Regions from separate parts of the Homo sapiens genome. Here region 2 is linked to region 1. Evidence: promoter capture Hi-C in human tissues and cell types (Jung and others, 2019). All regions are on one chromosome and are shown on one strand. Each heading gives the region's core, a stretch centred on a gene start or on the middle of the fragment in contact. The rest is flanking DNA. Distances are from core to core; before and after follow the strand shown.

Region 1 (3,723 bases), core at 311-2,810:
ACCTGGGGAAGGAGGAGTAAGGGCCAGGGTCCTAGAAGAGGTTTTCTGGGGTCAGGGCCGCGGTGAGCACCAGGTCGCCAGGAGCAGCCGGCGTCGCCTCTGGCGCATCCGGGCCCATCCCCCACAGCACCCCCAACGATCTCGGGGTCCAGCCACACCCTCCGCCCGCCCTGCCTCACCCCTGCTTCCCCAGCCCCCAACCCGGCCCGGCCGAGAGGAAGGAGCCAGCCCCGCCGGGCCGCCGCCTGCGACTTCCCCTCTGATCCACAGGTGCCGGTAAACAAAAGTGCCGCAGCTACCCCCCCGCCCCCACCCCGCGGAGTTCGGCCCAAGGTTACGCCGGGGTTCGGGCGGCGCCCGCCGGGGGCCCCCAAACCCAGCTTCTGGACTCTCCCCGGCTTCTCAAGCCCACCGGGCCGGGAGCCTTCCTCTGGCTCCGAGCTGCTCCCCTCGCTCCAGGCTGGATTCCCCCCTGAAATGTTGGTCCGGGAAAACCAGCCTGGGTCCTCGCGCGCCCTTCTGCACGGGGACCCCAGCCCACCCCCGTACGGACACGCCTTCCACCATCTCGCCTAGAAGGCTGCTGGGACCCCAGACCCAGAGCCCCGGTCACACTCCCGTCCCATGCTGTCCCCCTCCCGCAAAGCCCACGGTGGGAACAGAGGGCACCGCGCGAGCCGATGCCACCCTCACTGCCGGCCCCACCCAGACCTGCCGGTGCTGCAGTGCCCCGTATGTGCAGCCTGCAGCATCCCAGCGGCTGGGGCAGGCCCGGGGGCGGCTCGCACAACGCAGCTGGGGACCGGGTCGGGGTCCAGCGGCAGCCGGGGTCCGGGTCCCCCCGGCCCCGCACCCCTTCCCACTCCCGGCCCGCAGGGGAGACCCCGGAGCGCGCGACCCCGGAGCGTCGGGCAGGTGTGGAGCTGGGGGTCCCGGGGCTGGGGGGTCCCAGGGCCGCCGGCCCGGGCCGCAGGGACAGGGGAGGGGCGCTGGGCTGTGACCCCCAGTACTGTTTACTTTCCGTGTAATTAGCCGGCCAGGCTGCGGAGCCTCGGGCTGCGACGTGCGGCGGCCGCTCCCGCAGACCCCGGAGCTCAATCCCCGAACCCGCAACCCCGGGTCTCTGCCTTGGCAGCCCTGCGGACTCACGTCTCGGAAGCGGTTCCAGTGCTTGATCTTGCCGCTGTACTGCGAGATGGACGACAGCCATTGCTCGTCCTCCATGAAATTGCCGGGGGTCTCGCCCTCCTTGAGCCCCTTGGCGTCGCCTTCGGCCAGGGCTGCCGCGGCCAGGAGCAGCAGCGGCAGCACCAGCCGCCCGCAGCCCGGGGCGCGCATCGTGGTCTGGGTTCGACCTGGGGGGGTCTTGACTTCTGCAGTATTTTAATGTCCTTCCTCCCACCCCGCTGCTGGCGAAGCGCACGCGGCTGTCCTCAGCTCTCCTCCCGCGGTCTGCCTCCGGTGACTGGCGGAGAGTGGGTCGCGGCTGAAATGTGACCTGGTTAGGAGATGCACTTGTCTGAAAAAGCCCAGCACTGGACGCGGAGAGGGAGAGAGAATCAGAGAGGCTGCGCCAGCAGGGGCTGTAACTGTAGCATCAGCATCACGTTTGACATCATCATACCTGGTTTAAAAAAAAAAAAAAAAAAGGAGTGGGTAGATTTCAAAGCGAAGCGCTCCCTCGATGAGAGCGCCAAACGCCAGCCAGCCGCAGCGGGGCCCAGCCCCGCCTGGCACACAGGGAGTTGCAGACCAAGAAATCCAGAATCCCGAAATGTCCCTGAGCTCCCTCAAAGGATGGAGAGCAAGAAGGGCCCCAGGATCTCCCCGGGGAAGATGGGATGGGGGAGAGGGCACAAAACTCTCCGGTTACAAAGCCAGCCAGGCTCAGGTGTCGGAAAGGGAATTTGGCCAGACACTGTTTTTCTCCCCTTGCCTCCCACCCAGAGGGGCCTGCGCCACAGCCCTGACAGCTGGCTTCCTGCGAGTTATGGCTCTACCGTAATGGGTGGCTTCGTTAAGACAAAAGCCGTATAACAACTGGCTGCTCAGAACCATTGCTCCCCAGCGGCACCGCGTTGCGCAAGGCAAGGCCTGAGCACTGAGTGGCTGGTGAAACAGAGGCAGATGTCCTCCTCCCCAGGCAGCTGTTTAGGGGCTGTCACCCGTTTTGTCAGCTCTTCCCAGGACAACCCTAAAAGGCAAATGTCTGACCATTTCATCTGCCTTGGAGGCTGCAAATTTGGAAAAGGCATATTTGCTTATGGTTTTTTGACTTCAAGTTAGTTTGAATAAGCCACTGGGGAAGCCGGGGAGTGGGGGGCTGGGGTGGGGTGCTGGTTTTGTTTGAGGTGTTTCGGGTTTTGTTGAAACTGCGACCCTCCTTATTGGCTGTAGATTTAAATGTTGACATACCAGCGGGGAAGGCTGGAGGCTGGCCACAGTCCCAAGAGCACAGCAGAAATGGGGACAGGTTTACATTACAAATACATTAAAGAGGAAACATCATCTGATGGGACAAAACCTAGTGAACTTTTGGGACCCAAGCCCTAGATTGTGTTTTTATAAAAAGACTTAGCTGCTGTGATCTAAAAATAAAATAAAAATTTAAAATGCTTTAAAAAACATAATCTTAATCAGTAGGAAAAAACATAGCTTACAAGGTTCCTTGTCACCCTGAATCTGGCCTATCTGGGAACTCTGAATGCCTCAGTGGCTCAGGCCGGAGTCTCGTTGGGAAAACAGAAAACAATAGCTCCCTTTCCATGTTTTCTTGTTTCCTTTGCTGTTGGATTTAGTGGTGGTGCTGCAGTGAGGCCCTGGCCATTGACGTCTTCATCTCACAGTAATAAAGCATTCTTCCTGGGTGTGTCCTGGCGCTGTACAGTGAGAGAGCACGGCTTGCTGTCGTGGAGACTAGAGGACAGAATCCCACTTACTGGCTGGATTCTTGAGCAATTACCTATTTTCTATCTAAAACTAATGGTAATACCATCATTAAAACTGCTGTAAAGTGCAAGCAAAATTACATACTAAGTGGGCATAATGGGCATTTTTTTAAAAAGTTAGTCTTTCCTCTGGTTGGGAAGAGAAGGCTACGGTGTCCCATAGTTCTGAAGATTCATCAAAATTTGCCATCTTTTCCACCATCTCAATCCTACAATCCTAGTTTTTTGTTGTTTTTTTTTTTTTTGTTTCTGTTTTCGTTTTTAGCAAAGCTAGCTATATATCTCTAAGGCACTTAGGAGATAGGTACCAGATACCACAGCTCTCCCATTCCTGTGCTATCTTAGGGGCTTCCAGAGTTACCAAAGTTGCTGAATAAAGAGTTTGGAAAGGTGCTGTCAAGATGCCCATCAATATGACAATAGCTGTCTCCAGACTCTGAGGGTCAAAATGGCTCCCACAGTCCCAGGTAGCTTCTCCAGTGGGACTTGCCTTCTGTAGCACCTTCAAGCTGGGTCAATACTAGTCCTGTGTCGAAAGCTAATCAACAACATTCCAGTCCCATTAGTGAAGCCAATAGTAATGCTATTTAGGAAGAAGAACCCAAATTTCCAGATGACTGGTGTAAAACTTGTAGGAAATGGCCAATAGTTTTAGTTTACAAAGAAGAAAAAAAGGGCCAGGTGTGCTGACTCACACCTGTAATCCCAGCACTTTAGGAGGCCAAGAGGCAGGAGGATGGCTTGAGCCTAGGAGTTCCAGACCATCGTGGGCAAC
Region 2 (3,905 bases), core at 892-3,391, 760 kb after region 1:
AGTTTTCTCTATGTCTTTTTATGGCTTGATAGCTCATTTCTTTTTAGCACTGAATAATAGTCTGTTATCTGGGTGTACCACAATTTGTCCACTTGCCTACTGAAGGACATCTTGGTTGCTTCCAAGTTTTGGCAGTTATGAATAAAGCTACTACAAACATCTGTGTGCAAGTTTTTATATGGGCATTTTTTAGCTCCTTTGGATAAATACAGAGAATTGTGGTTGGTAGCAATATGTTTATTTTTGTAAGAAAACACCAAACCGTCTACCAAAGTGGTTGTACTATTTTGTATTCCGAACAGTAATGAATGAGAGTTCCTGTTGCTTCACATCCTTGCCAGCATTTGATGTTTAACTTACAGTCTTTTCCCCTTGTTTAAACTCAGTGGAAGCAGTCATTTTTCTTCTCTTGACATTTAAAGAAAATTTTAATTATTTTACATATTTAAGTATATTTTTCTGAGATTATTGTGAAGCAAACACATTTTGTTTATACATATTAATTATAGATATTCTGTCAGGTGCAGCAGCTCACACCTGTAATCCTAGCACTTCGGGAGGCCAAGGCAGGTTGATCACCTGAGTTCAGGAGATTGAGACCAGCCTAGGCAACTTGGTAAAACCATCTCTACTAAAAATACAAAAAATTAGTCTGGGTGTGGTGGCTCATGCCTGCAATCTCAGTACTTTGCGGGGCCAAGGCGGGCAGATCACCTTAGGTCAGGAGTTCGAGACCAGCCTGGCCAACATGGCAAAACACTATCGCTACTAAAAATATAAAAATTAGCTGGGTGTGGTGGTGGGCACCTGTAATTCCAGTTACTCAGGAGGCTGAGGCAGAAGAATCGCTTGAACCCGGGAGGCAGAGGTTGCAGTGAGCCACGATTGTGCCACTGCATTCCAGCCTGGGCAACAGAGCAAGACTCCATCTCAAAAAAAATGTAAAAAAATAGAAATACAAAAAATTAGCTGGGCATGGAGGCATACACCTGTAGTTGTAGCTACTCAGGAGGCTGAGGCAGGAGGATCTCTTAAACCTGGGAGGTCAAGGCTGCAGTGAGCCCTGATCATGCCACTGCACTCCAGCCTGGGTGACAAGAATGCGACTCTGTCTCAAAAAATATATATATATAGATATTCTGAGGATATTTTTGCGGTAATGTATAAGGAAGCTCCTTATTGTCACCAAAGTAGATAGATATTTAGTTTATTCTATTAAAATGACAATCTTATATTTTGTCTAACATATAATTTAACAAAAAAGCATATAGACTTTTGGAATTATCCTTAGGAATATAAGTGATTGTTAAATTACTTGAGGGCATCTAGGCATGAAACTAGTAAAAATAAAATGTAAGACATTTATTGAGAATAATAAACTTTATTGAAGGACATAAGATAGGAATAAATGCAGAGTTATACCATGTTAATAGATATGAAGAATGAATTTATAAACTCAATGCAATGCTAATCAAAACCCCAGTAGGAGCTGATCAACTTACTTAAAAATTCACATGAAAGAGTAAAGCTATATAAAAAACTAAGATAAATTTGGAATAGGAAAACAAGGGGGCATGTGGTACCTAAGCACATATTAAGATGTATTTCTAAAACTATAATAATCAAAACAATGAAGTATTAGTATAGGAAAGATTGTTGGATCAGATTAGAGGAAGCTTGCATATATAGAAATCTGACATGTGATTGATTAGCATTGTAAAGCCAAGGAGAAAGGGCAGACTATTTAATAAATGGTGCTATTACAGTCAACTTCTCTACATTACAAAAATAAGTAAGTTCCAGATGAATTAAGGAGTAAAATGTGAAACACAAGGCTCTAAAAGGAAATAAAAATTTACATCAGAAACTAAAAACATTGAGTAGTGCTACTTTCTCTTAGCCTTATTTTTATTTATAATAGGGGGAAAATCTGGTTTTTCGATATATAAATTACGGTATACAGTCATGCATGTACTGAATAACAACAATGTTTCAGTCAACAATGGGCCACATATGTGATGTTGGTCCCAAAAGAGTATAATACTGTATTTTTACTGCACCTTTTCTGTGTTCAGAAATGTTTAGATATACAAATACTTACCACTGTGTTACAGTTGCTGACAGTATTCAGCACAGTAACATGGTATACAGGTTTGTAGCCTAAGAGCAATACCTAGATACCTACTAGGTGTGTAGTAGGCTATACCTTCTAGGTTTTGTAAATATTATCTATGATGTTCACACAGTGACAGAATCACCTAATGATGCATTTCTCAGAATGTATCCCTGTCGTTAAGCAATGTATTCATAGAATGAAATTCTATATAGGAGTGTTTTTTTCTTTTTTTAAAATTTACCACTTCCTTATATATAGGAGTTTAAGTGAATATTTCCAGAAATACGATCCAACTTTGATAAACCTCAAAGCAATGATTATCATAAAAGGCAAGTTTTAGAGGTTTGTATACACCATGATCCTTTATATATAGGAGTCTCCCCTCCACCCCTTTTTCCATGGCTTCACTTTCCATAGTTTCAGTTACCCACAGGCAACCGCAGTCTGAAAATATTAAATGGAAAATTCCAGAAATAAACAATTTTTTTTTTTGAGACAGAGTCTTGCTCTGTCACAGGCTGGAGTGCAGTGGTGCAATATCAGCTCACTGCAACCTCTGCCTCCCAGGTTCAAGCACTTCTCCTGCCTCAGTCTCCCGAGTAGCTGGGATTACAGGTGCCTGCCACCACACCCAGCTAATATTTGTATTTTCAGCAGAGACAGGGTTTCACCATGTTGGCCAGGCTGGTCTCAAACTCCTGCCCTCAAGTGATCTGCCTGCATCAGCTTCCCGAAGTGCTGGGATCACAGGTGTGAGCCACTGCACGCGGCCCAATTAATAAGTTTTAAATTGTATGCTATTCTGAGTAGTGTGATGAAATTTTGTGCTCTCCTGCTCAGTCCCACCTGGGATGTGAATCATCCCTTTGTTCCGCATATCCATGCTTTATATGCTACTCGCGCATTAGTCACTTAGTAGCTGTTTCAGTTACCGGATTGACTGTTGTAGTACTGCAGCAGTTGTGGTCAAGTAACCCTTATTTTACTTAATACTAACCCCCCATGTACAAGAGTAGTGATGCTGGCATGTTGTTTTAATTGTTCTATTTTTTTCTTAGTTCTTTCTGATAATCTCTTATTTTGCCTAATTTATAAATTAAACTTAAAAAAATTTTTTTTCTTCTTTTTTGAAAATGAAAATGTTTGACTGGCCTGGGAAGGCTCCTCCCACCCCTCAAAGCCAGAGCTAACAAAGTTGTTCCCTTTAGGGTCCAGATGGAGGGAACCAGGATAGGGACTGGGAAGGGACCAGGAAGCAATGAAGGGAAGGAGTGGAAAGGAATAATCCAAATGGAGAGGAATAAAGCCTCCAAAATCTACCTAAAAGTAGGAGATCTTAGATCCAGGGAAACTTCCTCCCAGTGTGGTCAGGGAGACAGCTGAGCTTTAGATGTCAGTGTATTGATTTCCTTTTTTATTGAGACGAAGTCTCACCCTGTCGCCCGGGCTGGAGTGCAGTGGTGCAAACTGGGCTCACTGCAACCTCCGCCTCCCGGGTTCAAGCGATTCTTCTGCCTCAGCCTCCCAAGTAACAGGGACTACAGGCACACGCCACCATGCCCAGCTAATTTTTTGCACTTTTTCACTAGAGACGGAGTTTTGCCATGTTGGCCAGGGTGATCTAGAACTCCTGACCTCAAGTAATCTGCCCGACTCGGCCTCCCAAAGTGCTGGGATTTAAGGCATGAGCCACCGCACCTGTCCTGTATAATGATTTCTGATCAAGTTGGGGGAACCTGGGGTTCTCCACAGATCCCATCCTCATAGGCCACTCGTGTCAACTGAAGAA

What was found. Contacts are between HindIII fragments. The study calls those that stand out against the background at their distance.
Region 2: a contact is called between a fragment that was not itself captured here and the fragment with the promoter of SPOCK2 in region 1, in 1 of the 25 tissues and cell types used here (lymphoblastoid cells).

The regions. Positions count from the first base shown.
Region 1 is chr10:72,086,991-72,090,713 of GRCh38, forward strand. It overlaps SPOCK2 (SPARC (osteonectin), cwcv and kazal like domains proteoglycan 2), which reads right to left and starts at 1,561. Exons shown (of 11, transcript NM_001244950.2): 1 at 1,150-1,561. The coding sequence starts at 1,338. The HindIII fragment of the contact is 11,919 bases long and covers 1-3,723 here.
Region 2 is chr10:72,843,455-72,847,359 of GRCh38, forward strand. All of the region lies in intron 2 of MCU (mitochondrial calcium uniporter), which reads left to right. Among named protein-coding and RNA genes, the nearest start is that of OIT3, 48 kb to the right of the region's middle. The HindIII fragment of the contact is 5,105 bases long and covers 1-3,905 here.